2 separate regions of the Homo sapiens genome follow, and region 2 is linked to region 1. Evidence: promoter capture Hi-C in human tissues and cell types (Jung and others, 2019). All regions are on one chromosome and are shown on one strand. The core of a region is centred on a gene start or on the middle of the fragment in contact, and the rest is flanking DNA. Distances in the headings are between cores, read along the strand shown.

Region 1 (7,761 bases), core at 3,313-5,812:
TTCATCACCACAAACACGTGAGTAATGTGTTAACCTATGATGTTGGATAGCTATGATGTCACTACATGACAGAAATTTTTCAGCTCCATTATAATCTTATGGGACCATGGTTGAATATGTGGTCCATTATTAGGCAGCACATAATTTTATTAAGTAAGTGTGAGAAATATTTGGATGAGATGGGATTAAGTGGGGACATACTTGGATGGGAGAGAGAGCTCAGAGGCAGTGCTGTGACCTAGGTGTAAACTCTCCTTGTCCCCACTGGGGGTGTCAGCACACAGATGCTGTCTCTTTGCCCTACAGCATTGCTTGTATCATGAGGACAGATGATACAAGATGTGGAGGATCAAAGTTAGCACGGTTTATGTTCTATGATGAACTTCCTCTCCCCTAAGCACACTTATCACCCTCAGAGAAATTCCTATTCCATGTACCCTCTGTAATAAACCCAGAAATATTTGTGTGCCTAGGGATGCCTCACATTCCCTGTACCTTGTTCTCCACACCCTCTAAATGAAGACTTTCACATATTTTGGAAATTTGCCTCTTACCAAATATATGGCATCTTAGTCCATTTCTTGTTGCTTGTAACAGAATACCTGAAACTGAAAAAGAATTTATTTCTTATAGTTGTGGAGACTGGGAAGGCCAACAACAAGGGTCTACATCTGCTGAGTGTCTTCTTGTTGGTGAGGACTCCCTGAAGAGTCCTGAGACAGCACAGGGCATCAAATAATGAGGGAGGTCAGGTCACACGTCCTCTTCTTTTTTTTTTTTTTTGAGACAGAGTCTCACTCTGTCACCCAGACTGGAGTGCAGTGGCACAATCTCGGCTCACTGCAACCTCTGCCTCCCAGGTTCAGGTGATACTCCTGCCTCAGCCTCCCAAGTAGCTGGGACTACAGGCGTGTGCCACCATGCCCGGCTAATTTTTTGTATTTTTAGTAGAGACAGGCTTCACTATGTTGGCCAGGCTGGTCTCGAACTCTGGACCTCAAGTGATCACCCGCCTCAGCCTCCCAAAGTGCTGGGATTACAGGTATGAGCCACCACACCTGACCACCCACTATGTTTCTTATAGGGGTTATGGTTTCAGGTCTTACATTTCAGTTTTTAATCTATTTTGAGTTAATTTTTGTATATGGTATAAGATGAGGGTCCAATTTCATTTTTTTACATGTGAACTTCCAGTTTTCCCTAAGACATTTATTGAAAAGACTATCCTTTCCCCATTGAGTATTCTTAGTTCTCTTGTTGAAGATCAGTTGAACATATATGCATAGGTTTAATTTCTGGGCTCTCTATTCTGTTCCATTGGTCTATGTGTCTGTTTTTATGTCAGACATAAAATGTTTTGATTACTATAGTGTTGGAATATAATTTGAAATCAGAAGTGTGATGCCTCCAACGTGTTCTTCTTTCTCAAGATTGATTTGTCTATTTGGGATATTTTGTGTTTCCATTTGAATTTTAGAATTACTTATTCTACTTCAGTGAAAAATGCCATTGGAATTTTGAGAGAGATTGTATAGAATCTATAGATTGGTTTGAGTGGTATGGACATATTAAACATTTTAATTCTTCCAATCCATGAGTATGGGATATTTTTCCATTTATTTGTGTCTTCTTCTATTTCTTTCTTCAATGTTTTATAATTTTCAGCATACAGATCTTTCGCCTTCTTGGTTAAATGTAGTCCCAACTCAAAACAACAAAACAAATAACCCAGTTTAAAAATGAGTAAAGAACCTGCATTTCTGGACATTTTTCCAAAGAAGACATATAAATGGCCAGTGGGTATGTTAAAATGTGCTCAACATCACCAATCACAGAAAAATGCAAACAAAAATTACAAGGAGATATCACTTCACATCTTAGAAGAGCTATAATAAAAAAGACACAAGATAACGAGTATTTCTGAAGATGTGGAGAGAAGGTAATCCTTGTACAATATGGTGGAAATGTAAATTGGTTCAGCCATTATGAAAAACAGTATGGAAGTTTCTCAAAAAATTAAAAAAGGACTATCATATGATCCAGCAATCCCACTCCTTGGTATATATCCAAATTAAATGAAATCAGTATCTCAAAGAGATATCTGCACTCTTATGTTACAATAATCAAGATACAGAAACAACCTAAGTTGGGGCCAGGTATGGTGGCTCATGCCTGTAATCACAGTACTTTGGGAGGCTGAGGCGGGTGGATCACTTGAGCCCAGATGGATCCACCAACAGATGGATAAGTAAAGAAACATATATATAATGGTATATTATTCAGCCTTAAAAAAGAAGGAGGTCCTGCTGTTTGCAACAATATGGATGAACCTCAGCTGGGCATGGTGGCTCATGGCTGTAATCCCAGCACTTTGAGAGGCCAAGGTGGGTGGATCGCCTGAGGTCAGGAGTTCGAGACCGGCCTGACCAACATGGTGAAACCCCATCTCTACTAAAAATATAGAAAATTTAAGCGGTGTGGTGGCATGCACCTGTAGTCCCGACTATTCGGGAGGCTGAGTCCGGAGAATTGCTTGAACCCAGCAGGCAGAGGTTGCAGTGAGCTGAGATCGTGCCACTGCACTCCAGCCTGGGCAACAGAGACAGACTCAGTCTCAAAACAAAAAACAAACAAACAAAAAATGTGGTACACTTTAAATACAGTAGTCCTCCCTTACCTGCAGTTTCATGTTCTTAGGTTTCAGTTACTCACAGTTAACTGCAGTCTGAAAATATTATAGTATTTTGAGAGAGAGAGAGAGAAATTATATTCACACTTTTATTTCAGCATCATTTTATAATTGTTCTATTTTATTTTGAGTTATTATTGCTAATCTCTTGCTGTGCCTAATTTGTAAACTAAACTTTATTATAGGTATGTATACATGTATGGGGAAACCAGTATATGTAGGGTTCAGTACTAACCTATCCCAGGTTTCAGGCATCCACTGGGAGTCTTAGAAAGTATCACCCATGGATAAGGAGGGGCTATATAGACATTAATTTTTATAAAAAAAATAAATGGGGGCTGCTTTGCCTATAGAGTAGCCATTCTTTTATTCCTTTTTTTCTTAATAAATGTGCTTTCATTTTAAAAAATAAAAAATAATGAATAAATAAATAAATGGGGCCAGGTACGGTGGCTCACGCCTGTAATCCCAGTACTTTGGGAGGCTGAGGTGGGTGGATCACTTGAGCCCAGGAGTTTGAGACCCAGCATGGACAATGTAGTGAGACCTCATCTCTACAAAAAATAGCTGGATGTGGTGGCTCATGTCTGTTGTCCCAGCTACTCAGCAGCTGAGGCAGGAGGATTGATTGAGCTCAGGAGGTTGAGGCTGCAGTGAGCCGTCATCAAGCCACTGCACTGCAACCTGGGCAACAAAGCGAGACACTGTCTAAAAATAAAAATAAAAATAGAAATAAAAATAAATAAATGAAGACTCTTGCCTTGGATGCAACCCCTCATATGCAGCTGGCTGCTACCTAGTGCTTAGAACTCTTTCTGCCTATATGTGTTAGACACATAGTAAATGATAATTAAAGAGAGAATAAAGTTGAGGACCTAATTCACATTAAAATATAAGCAGTTTGTTGGATCTACTTATCTCAACATATCTGCATTTTAATAAAAAATTATACCTTAACATTCCAAAATTGATCTCAAAAGGTGACATTTTACATTCATCTACTGTTCTTTGGAAAGATAATTTGGGGCAATTGAGCTGCTTTCTTTGTGATCCCCAAAAACTGTTACAGAAGAATGAAGAGGACAAGAGCTCAGTATCTATATATATGAGCACACATCCAAACGTTTATAAACTTTTATGTCTAGGAAGAATGTATTTGCTCTCAGTATATGACCCAACATATGAGTAAGGAGTCTTTTTTTTTTTTGAGACAGTCTCGCTCTGTCACCCAGGCTGGAGTGTAGTGAGATGATCCTGGCCCACTGCAACATCCGCCTCCCGGGTTCAAGTAATTCTCCTGCCTCAGCCTTCCAAGTGGCTGGGATTACAGGCACTCTTTACCATGCCCAGCTAGTTTTTGTATTTTTAGTGGAGATGGGATTTCACCATGTTGGCCAGGCTGATCTCGAACTCCTGACCTCGAGATCTGCCTTGGCCTCCCAAAGTGCTGGGATTACAGGCTTGAGCCACCATGCCTGTCCGAGTAAGGAGTCTTAAAGGATGCATTAAGGTTTGTGAGTAACCCGGGTCTTCTCTGGATAATCTCCGTGCTCAGGCACCTCTCTTTTTCTACTCCGAGCATTGAACAGGGGCAGAAGGAAGCAAGCCATGAGAGAGAGGGACAAGTGTAACCAGAAGGTCCTCAAGGGTCCAAAAGCAGAGCTCCTGAGAGCACAAATTCCCACAGGTGCATACTAAAAAATATTTATGTTTCTACTTTGGCAGAACTCAATTAGTTCCCAGTGTACTGGAATGAAATGGAACAATGAGACCCACCTCACTAAAAACCTAGGCTCCTGTCCAGAACTTTCCAGTCTGTGAGAGAGCAGTGGGCAGAAGGAGATGATAAAAGTAGGTAGAACTTAGCTCTGTATATATAGGCCCAGAACTCGAGAGGCCTGTGAGGGAGAGGAGAGCAGAGAGGTCCTGAGTATTGCTCTTCACGCTTCAGTCGGACAGGCCTGTATTCCATGGGAAAGTCCATTGGCCATTTTTAACTGGGGCTATTTCTTTTCTCTTATGGACTATATCAGGCCACAGTGGTCTCCAAGGGCATGATACTCAAAGGTTGTCTCCTGTATCCTTTGTGCTCTCCCAGGAATAAGCAAAGATGTGCCAGGCTGTGGAAAATAGCCTATGGAGGATTACTAAAGATAGTGACTGGCTCCCTCTTAACATTTTATGTGGTTCTCTGTCTTGATGGCGGGATGGTGCTCATGAGGAAGCAAGTGCCATCAAGGTTCATGTACCCCAAAGAGTGGCAGCACCTCACCATGTTCATCCTCCTCACTCTTAATGGCTGTGTGGACTTCATGAGCAAGAATGTGCTGCCTCAGAGGTGTGTGGGCCTAGAAAAAGGTACCCTGGTCCTGATCATCTACGAGCTCCTGCTGCTGATGGTGTCACATGTTAAAGATTCAGAAGGGGTGGAGCTGCACGTTTATTCTCTGCTCATCTTGGTGGTGTTCCTGCTGTTGCTGGTGTTGACTGCAGAGCTGTGGGCTCCCAACATGTGTCATCTCCAGCTGATGGAGACCTTTCTGATTCTGATGATGGGCTCCTGGCTGATGCAGGCAGGCTTTATTCTATACAGACCCGTCTCTGGCTACCCATGGCAGGACGATGACATCAGTGACATCATGTTTGTCACCACCTTCTTCTGCTGGCATGTGATGATCAATGCCTCATTCCTGTTGGGAATCTATGGCTTCTCTTCCTTTTGGTATCATTGTTTCAGACCCAGCTTGAAGCTGACTGGGCCCAAAGAAGCTCCATATTATGCAAGCACTCCAGGACCCCTCTACAAGTTGCTACAGGAAGTGGAGCAGTCAGAGAAAGAGGACCAGGCTCTCCTCCTTCCAAAGAGCTCCCCCTGAGACAGGGCCTACAGTGGCTGGCACATCGTCCACCTCATCTTCCTCCTGTTGGCTCCTCAGCCACGAGCATGGTACCCTCCTTGGTAAAGGTAATGGCCTTGAAGGCTAGCAGTTGGTCCCGTCTGCTGGTTCATTTTCTTTTCTTCTCTTTTCTTTTTTTTTTTTTTTGAGACAGAGTCTCGCTCTGTTGCCCAGCCTGGAGTGCAATGGCACAATCTCAGCTCAGTGCAACCTCCGCCTCCCGAGTTCAAGCGATTCTCCTGCCTCAGCCTCCCGAGTAGCTGCAATTACAGGAGCCTGCCACCATGCCCGTGCTGGTGCATTTTCTGTCCCTGAGCCTCTAATTACTGAGAAGATAAGGGGAGAGGGATTGAGAAAGAGACGCTGATGGGATTTGCGGGAGGGAGGGAAAAGGACGAGGAGAACACTTCTTCTTAGTGTGCAAGAAAAGCCACTGGGGGAAGAGAATGCAACAAAAGGAAGAGCTGTGAAGGGAGGAGAACAGAGTCTAGCAGTTATGCTGTCATTAGCGTCATCAGGCACAAGGGATTGCCTTTTACCTGAGGGAATAAAGACTTCTCACAACTCAAAACTGGACCCATTCAAATCTCATCTTGATAAAGAAAAGTGGGTACTTTACGTGCTCACCAAAGTGGTGCCACCATGTGGAAATAGCATGATAGAATTTATAATTAATTCATACAGGCTGAAATTATGCTCGCTTTGCCTCCTTCTCTCTCCGCAGCTTTCAAGAATTGGCTTCATTTCAAACTTTACATATAAAGTGAGACTTTTTAAATACTTAATAACATTTCAAATTTCCATAATTTAAATTTGTATAGAATTCAACTGCTATAGCATTTTTATAGCATTCAAATGCTTGGTACTTCCCTGACTTCTCATTTTATTACTCTTATTCTAGCCCAAACTTTCCTTTTCACCATGACCACCCTTGCACATGCAATTTAGCAGATACCATTCTTGGGTCTTTGCAAATTTCTTTTCCTTGCAAATCACAGCCAGTCATCCTACAGTCACATATTTACCATGTTATTCGATTCCCAGAATAAACCTACATCCACCCCCACACCGCACCAAGTATCCCCAAGGTGGCCTTCTCCAGAACTCTTACTGATTCCCTTGTTTTGGAACTCTTGGGCACTTACATTAAATCTGCTTTGTTAGTTTGCTCATACAGGTGACCCACTTTCTTTTATACTGCTGCTGAAATCATTTTCTTTCAGAAGGTTCTTCCTCACCCACTAAAGTACAGGCTCCTAAAGGGAAAAGACTTTGCCTTATCCAAGTTACCAAATTTCCTATGTATACTCCAGCTATGGATCATGGTTATGTTTAATAAAGCCTTCTTTGCTTCCAGAGTCTTCCCTAATCCTGTTTCTTCTAAATGTATTGCTGGACAGGTTGGAGGTTTTGTGAATCTCTCTGGGTGACAACAACAGTCCTGAACACTGAGTCACTGCCTTAGTAATGCACCCACTCTCTTCCTTGTTTTGGGGTATAATAAAATCCAGTAACTTGTTTCTGAAGTTGACTCTGTTATTGTTTTTAATCCTCACAAATGTTTCTATAAGGAGTCTCTAGAAAACTGAGACTCCAGCAGGTTGACTTGCCCAAGTCTCACAGTTGGTATGAGGCAACACAGGAATTTAAGTGCAGGTGTGTCTGACGCAAGTGTGACTGTGTCCTCTGGGCCACAGTGACTTTGCTAATGGCAATGGAGAAACAAGTTATCTCAAAATGAAAAAAATGAAATTGTGAAAGAAAGAAGAAAGACGGCTGGGCACTGTGGCTCACGCCTATAATCCCAGCACTTTGCGAGGCCAAGGCGGGCGGATCCCTTGAGGTCAGGAGTTCGAGACCAGCTTGGTCAACATGGTGAAACCCTGTCTCTACTAAATATACAAAAATTAGCTAGGTGTGGTGGCCCACACCTATAATCCCAGATACTTGGGAGGCTAAGGCAGGAGAATCACTTGAACCTGGGAGGCGGAGGTTGCAGTGAGCTGAGATTGCACTACTGCACCCTAGCCTGGGTGACAGAGTGAGACTATGTCTTAAAAAAAAAAGAAAAAAGAAAAGAAGGAAGGAAAGAAAGAAAGAAAGAAAGAAAGAAAGAAAGAAAGAAAGAAAGAAAGAAAGAAAGAAAAGAAAACAAGCCAGAAAGCCCAGGTAAAG
Region 2 (7,761 bases), core at 2,204-4,703, 420 kb before region 1:
AGAGACTTCTCAGAGATAAAAGAAGGAATAGAAGCCATAGGCTAAGAGAAGTAAAGAACAGTAGAGTATAAAACAACAAGAAATACTGAAAAAAATATATATATTTAGGGAAATCAAACAGTAAAAACATAGCTAAAGAAAGAATTAGTGATTTTCAAGGTAGATCTAAGGAAATAATCCAGAATACAGCATAGAAAGATATGTTAAATGTTTTTTAAAATTGAGATACAGATTGAGAAAATCCAAAATACAACTAATAGACTTTCAGAATGAGAGATTTGAGTAAATGTAGTCAAAACATTCTTTACAGATAACAGAGAATTTTTTCAGAACTAAAGAAAGACAAAGCCTTCAGATTGGAGAGGCAAATGGAAGATCAGGTACACTGTTAATATGTAAAAAGCATAACTAATAATTATCCATCATAATCCCCAATCCCCATCTTCTAAAATGTCTGTAATTTGTTTTCTTAGCTGGCTATTGCGTTCAGATTCAAGATAGAAGAACTAACTTTCTTTTGCTAAGTTAACTTAGTTGCAGTAAAAACTGAGCATTGGGAGGGAAAATATTAGCATGATCGAATATACAGTAGGTCTCCCTTGTCTGCAGTTTCACTTTCCATGGTTTCAGTTACCTGTGGTCAACTGCAGTCCAAAAATAATAAGGTATTTTGAGAGACAGACAGAGAGACTGACCATAGTTATATAACTTTTATTGCAGTATATTGTTATAATTGTTCTATTTTATTATTAGTTACTGTTTATCTCTTACTATGCCTAATTTATAAATTAAACTTTACCATAGGTATGCATGTACAGGAAAAAACATAGTATATATAGGGTTTCGTATTATCTGCAATTTCAGGCATCCACTGGTCATCTTGGAACATATCCCCCTGAGATAAGGGGGGACTACTACACACATCAAGCTTTTAGTTTGTCTAAAATTTTAACAGTTCAATACCTATTTTAATGTATTTTAGGAACATAATAATTATCACACCAAACCCACAATTTTGTGAAACCATTGCTTAGAAAAATGGAACAATAATAGGTAGTTCATAGCACTGGCAGCACACAAATGTGCAAAAATCACGAAAGTGGAAAAACAAACAGAAACGTCCTTGAAGGAGTAAGAGAGTGGGTTGAGAACCCTGCAAGAATGAGGGGCATAACACAGAAGAGGTGCTTGGGGGAGAGGGAGGAGTTGTCAGAATTATGCAGGACTCTGACAGGGAGCAGGGAGGTCTACCAAAAATAAACTTAAAAATTTTCCTGCATTAACGCAGATTCAATTGGCCCAAGGGCCAATCTCTTGCAGAAGAGTGGATAGTGGCATTTGTCATTTGTTATAGAAGATTTAAGAGACTCTGGAGCGGTTTCTCTACTCAAATTCACTGTATTTCTCCCCACGACTGCTCCCCAATTTTACTTTGTCATATTATCCAAACCTCCATCCATTTAGGCTTACTTGTGTTAATAAACTCTGTTTAAATTGTAAATACTCTTGGGAGAGCTGTCAGTCATTCACAATTTAGTAAAATCTGTATTTAGACTGCCTTCCTCCAAGCACTTAGGCTGAAATCAACCTCAATGCAGTAGTAGAATTTTAATGAGCTGAAGCAAGTAAAGGGAGGGAGTGCTGATGGTTTAGGAGAGAAAGAATGGAAAATGGGGTAGGCATGTGCTAAAATGGAGAAGGTTGCCAAAGATTTTCCAACTAGGTTTACTTCACAGTTTTATATGGTTGGCCCCGAGGGTTAATAAGGGAAACAGAACTCTGCTTGCAACAGACCATTAAAAAGTGTTCTTGTTGAACCCTCAGAGAAAGTGATGGTATTCCATTTTCTTTACAGTCTCCAGCAGCAGACAAAGCAGAAGATGGGTGGCACTTACCTAGTTTGACAACAAAGTTGATAAATCTCTGGATACAAAACTAGAAAAGAACAACATATCTATAGTTAGTATTATTGAACTGTGTAAACAATGTAAATAATGTAGAAGTCAAATTACAGAAACCCTAAAAAGTCTGCACACCTTCATTTACTGAAGGTCTGTCAGAGTGGAGAAAAATAGCCAAGTGAAGATGGCTGGGATCCATCCAGGCTAAGGTAAGATCTTTTCATACATGTAGGCTTTACAAAATGGGCCCGTGCAGAAAAGAAGCTTCAATGATGGAATTCTACAAGAGAGTAAAGATGGGAATCACACCCCTTATCCATCTGGCTTACATAGGTAAACTTATCAGCTAGTGCAGTGGTTTTCAAACTCAGGTGCATATAAGCTCTGGGGCACCTTCCAGGATGCCTAAGGAGCACATGGCTAAGGCTAAGATTTATGGGAATCAATTTCTAGATCCTCAACTTCCATAAGTGCTGTTTTCTAAAATTGATCAGCATAAGAATCTGCATGAAATGGAGGTGCAGGTTGTTCTTTTCTGTTTCCCCTTGCACAGTCTTTTCTACTTTTGAAAAAAAATAAAGACAGCCTTCTATATCACTGCCTTGGGATACAAATCAAAATATCAGTATTGGTATTGATAAAGAGAGGGACAGTGATTCTTCTAATTAATAGGTAATAAGTCCTCTCAAAAATCAGAGGTTTTTCAATGATTTCCTTTCTACACTGCTACTCAGGTTTCAGCTGAAAATCATTAAAGCATTCTGTGATTTTGGCATATGACTCAAAAAATGTTCAAAGAACTGGGTGACACTGCTATAACAAAATTCCTTCCATTATTATCTAACTTACATGAACACAGTTTTGTAGCACTTACTTCTCTAAAAACAAAAATAGTATTGATGCTGAACCTCAACTTATCCTAGCATTAAGTAATATTCATCCACGGATTCCAGACAAACTGATTTTTTAAAAAAGAGCCTCATGCATCTTTTAATTTTTATTTTATTATTATGTTTTTGAGACAGAGTCTCGCTCTGTCACCCAGGCTGGAGTGCGGTGGCATGATCTCGCCTCACTGCAAGCTCTGCCTCCCAGGTTCATGCCATTCTCCTGCCTCACCCTCCCAAGTAGCTGGGACTACAGGCGCCCGCCACCACGCCCGGCTAATTTTTTGTATTTTTAGTAGAGACGGGGTTTTGCCACGTTAGCCATGATGGTCTCAATCTCCTGACCTCATGATCCGCCCACCTCAGCCTCCCAAAGTGCTGGGATTACAGGCGTGAGCCACCGTGCCCGGCCTTAGAACCTCATGCATCTTATTAAGAGATGCATTTTCAATAACATTTTATATTTAAAAGTATTTTTCAAAATGCTTAACATATTTGTTTTAACTGACTGTATACTAGAAATAAAATGTAGAATAAAATTTTAATACCCAGAGACTTACAAACATATATGTTCTACCCCATGAACAATATAGCACATTACATTTACTATCTTATATTTTGCTGCTTTTTTCCATTTAACATAGCATGTAGATCTTTCCAGGTCAGAATACATAAAGCTATCTCATTTTAAGAGCTATATATAATTCAATTGCATAATAAAATGTATTTAACCATTGCCTTATGGATGAATATTTGGGCTGTTTTTATCTTTTGCTGTTACAAACAAAGCTGCAAGGAATATCTTTGTACATGTGTAATTTCACTCATGTAAATATAACAGATGGCACTTAAGTACATTAAAGTGAATGAGATAAATTTAGCCCTAACTTTTTGTCTGCTTCTTCACTTGACTACAAGCTCTTTAAGAGCAGAAACCACCTTTACTGAAATTATGTACTGAGTAAATAAGACTCACTCACACGTGCTTTCTTAAGAAGAAACAGAGAATGTGGTAAAATAAGTTCCTTACCAACATTGTTTTCAATGGGATGATTTATTTGAAACAGAGAGTGGTAAACTAAGTTCCTTACCAACATTGTTTTCAATGGGATGATTTATTTAGAGTGGGACTAAGAGGGGAAAAAAGATGGAGACTAGATTAACCAATAAGAGAAGTCACTGAATGGAAGGGTCAGCATTATAGCTGCTTCAGTCTACTCCATCTATGATTTCCATGTTCTGCTCAGAACAGGTTAGAATTTTCAGAAATAACCTTTTCTAGGAAACTGGGCAGGGTGGAGAGAACCATCAATGCAAGGAGATGGCAGAGTCTGCACAATTCATTCTTCTCACCCTTATCTAAACCAAAGTCTTGTCGATGTTTAGTTTATTTGGCACAGCTTCCTAGATCCCTACCCTGTTCCTGTTCTTAGCTTCACTTGGTCTGAGGACAAAGGCGAATATTACATATGGTATTTAAACTTTAAGGAGGAAGTAGATTTATGATGGCTCAACTTTGAGGCCTACGGGTAGGGAATAAACCACTCTGGATTCTGCTTCTTCATGTTGTCTTTGGGTTGGGGCTGCAGGTCACTTCCTTTAACCCCCAGGATACTTTGTACTTCTGATCTGTAATCTCTGATTACCCTGATGGCAGCCTGTCCTGTTCAGAAAGATCCCACAGCCAAGCTTTATTAGGACCAACCATTTGCTCCAATCTTGCTTCTGTCTTTCCATTCCCACTTATTTTCTTGGGATACTCCTCTCAACCACTTATACTATCCTGAAAATCCTCACGCCTCTCAGACCCCAAAAGTCTTGCTCTCATATCCACCCTACTTTCTTCCAATTCATTCCATTTACACTTTAGAACCATGGGTTAGAACCAGATGTTAGCTGGGCATGGTGGCGCATGCCTGTAGTCCCAGCTACTCAGGAGGCTGAGGCGGGAGGACTGCTTGAGCCCAGGAGGATTCAAGGCTGCAGTGAGCTATGATCACATCGCTGCACTCCAGCCTGGGCAACAGAGCAAGACCCTATCTCTAAATAAAAGACAACCAGTTGTTGAGACTGTTCCACCCTTCACTGAGGCTCTTCTTTCCCTGATGGCTAGGCTGTCCTCCATGGAACATTCACAGCAGCCACTATGTCCTCTGGGGTCTTCCGTGCAACATATCAGCTTCTGCTGGTTTTTCCTTCCTGTCTCAAATCCTGTATCTACTTTGGATCACCCACTAGGCTCTTATTTCCTTCCTGGTGGATGTTCCTAGTTCTCAGCACATTTCCAGGGTGGACAAGACTGACCTGCCCTGACTTTGAATGAAGCCTTCCCCATTTTAGGTTACCATCTTCATAGCTTCCTCATATTCTGTGATAACTCTGATGTGATGTCCTCAAGGGGACAGCCTGTGGTCATTTTCCCAGAAATCTATGACCATTTTATTATAGTCACAAAAGTACTTTGAAGATAGAGTAAAAATAAGATCCTTTCTAGGAGGAAGAGAGGAGCCATCCCTGTATGGGTCCTGTCCTGATTAGACATGTCGGGAACACAGACAATGGGGACAGCTTTGGTTTTAAACAAGAAAAAGTACAAAACAGAAGAAAGGTAAAGAAAGAAGTGGCTGGGCAATTTTAATGAGGGCAGGCATGGTAGAGAGAAGAAAAAGAATCCTCAAGTGGGGAAGAAAAAAGGCTGTGATTTATGGGAAGAGAAGAAAACGTTTACCTGATAGTTCAGGGCTAAAGAGAAGTCCTTTTGTTCAAAAGCCTCCAACATCTGGTTTGTCTTTTTTCCCAGGTAGTTATAGGTACTGGCAAGACAATAACAAATACTGCAGGTTCAATAACTCAACAGGAAAGGTCCAGATCTTCAAATCCCTCTGCTGTTTAAAAGGGAAAAAATACACCTAGTCCTCCTAAAGTCTGTTTTTGAATCCTAATCTATTAGGGGACAAGACTGTCTTCAGTTCTGAGTTTTCCAGCAATACTGAGCAGTACTGCAGAGAAGGAAGACAGGCAAAAGGGGATAAAGGAAGAAAATCAGAAAAAAGATAAAAAAGATGGAGGTGTATTTGTTAGGAAGCGACTGAGGCCAGCTCTTGCCCTAGGGTACACACAGGTGCAATGCTAGACAAGAACTGTGGATAAAAGGTAGCATCTGAGGTGAGTCCTAAAAGCCTTATGCTGAAAAACTGGGTGGATGGAGCACCATGAAAATAGGGGCAAATCCCAATAAATTACCTATATTCCTTGCTAATGTGTATATTACTTAAAGACTAGTTTCTAGATAGTAATATTAATAATGATGATAATAAAATGAGGGATCATTTACTAAGTGCCTATTATATTATAGGTGCTTGACATAAATCATGTCTAATCCTTGTAAAACCCTGCAAGGTAGGCCTGGTTTTTATTTTGATTAAAGAAGGGCTTCAGGGTTTCCATGAAAGCTTTCCATTGCTTCATGTTGTCTTCTATAACAATTCAACAAAAATGAAGGTGAGAATTTGATCTGACAAAATATTTTTGTGGACTTAAAAAACTCTCCAACTCTACCTATAAAGATAAATATCTTAAATAAGTCACTGAATTCTTAGAGAAACCAGCAAGGTAGAAGGTTATAGAAACTCATAATAAGGATATTTCCCCAAGTTCTTTAAATTCAAATGGCTTCTCTCATAGTAAGTCGGTATCAGAAAAAGTATTTATCTTGATGTACCACTAACAGAAATGTTGTTGGACTTGTATATATAGAACTGGGGTCAACAGCAAGGGATTCCAGGAATGTGAAGCTCATGTTATCTTGTGGCAATAGAGCAAGGAAGAACAATGTCTGAGGAGTTTCAGAATACTAACATTTGAATCCCAATGGTCTTAGGTGTATCCCTGGTTAGACAGAAAGGTGATTATAACTAGGGAGAAACGAAGTCTAACCAAATGTACTTTGCTTATAGATTATGTTGACAGAATTAAAATGCCTAGTATGGAGGACAAAAAGCAGGAGCCAAAAAAGAAAGAATTTCCAGGCGGAAAAAGGTTTAATGGTGATATGGTTTGGATCTATGTCCCTGCCTAAATCTCAGGTTGAAATGTAATCCCCAGTGCTGGAGGTGGGGCTGGTGGGAGGTGATTGGATTACAGGGGCAGTTTCTCATGGTTTAACACATCCTCCTTTGTGCTGTTGTCGCGATAGTGAGTTCTCGTGAGATCCAGTTATTTAAAAGCGTGTGGCACCTCACTTCCTCTCCCTCCTGCTCTGGCCATGTAAGATGTGCCTGCTTAGCCTTCCGCCATGATTGAAAGTTTCCTTCAGAAGCCAAGCACACGCTGCCATGCTTCCTGTACAGCCTGCAGAACTGTGAGCCAATTAAACTTCTTTTCTTATAAATTTCTCAGATATTTCTTTATAGCGATGTGAGAATGAATTAATACATATGGTCAACAAATACACATTCAAATTTCCTCAGTAGAAATACCCCTGAAGTTACAATGGCTGTCATAGGCCATCTTGGCTTGGTGAACAAGCCATTTATATTATTCAACTCAGTCACTCTTCCTCACAGCCAGGCTCACCAAGACATGTTATAAATGTTATTTTGCTCCCCTGGTACCTTTCAGTTAATGCAAAAATTTCATTCAATCTGCTTGGAAGCATATTCTTATGAATCAGGTTAACATGTGCAGTGGACATGCTAATTGAATTGCCTGTCTTTTGCTAAGTAGGCATTGGGCCACATGCTTCTGGTTGGACCTGACATGGACACTTGCCTAGGTAGTGCTATCTAATGATGTCCCGAGATGCCACGCTTGGGCAGCCATGACTGGCCATGTGCATGCTAAAGCAGAGAAAGCCCATCTGGATACAGAGAGAGAGAAGAGAAATAAAGAGATGTGCAGAAAGATGTGGAGGTGAGTCTCTCCAAAAAACCACATATAGAAGATAATCTGCCTTGGCTATTGAGATTCTGCAG

Evidence for each region. Contacts are between HindIII fragments. The study calls those that stand out against the background at their distance.
Region 2: a contact is called between a fragment that was not itself captured here and the fragment with the promoter of TEDDM1 in region 1, in 1 of the 25 tissues and cell types used here (spleen).

Annotation. Positions count from the first base shown.
Region 1 is chr1:182,397,468-182,405,228 of GRCh38, reverse strand. TEDDM1 (transmembrane epididymal protein 1) reads left to right here and starts at 4,562. Exons shown (of 1, transcript NM_172000.4): 1 at 4,562-7,112. The coding sequence starts at 4,744. The coding sequence ends at 5,565. RefSeq lists a silencer at 900-1,081. The HindIII fragment of the contact is 14,950 bases long and covers 1-7,761 here.
Region 2 is chr1:182,819,955-182,827,715 of GRCh38, reverse strand. NPL (N-acetylneuraminate pyruvate lyase) reads right to left here. Exons shown (of 13, transcript NM_030769.3): 11 at 5,517-5,601; 12 at 1,896-1,935. Among named protein-coding and RNA genes, the nearest start is that of DHX9, 16 kb to the left of the region's middle. The HindIII fragment of the contact is 3,812 bases long and covers 1,548-5,359 here.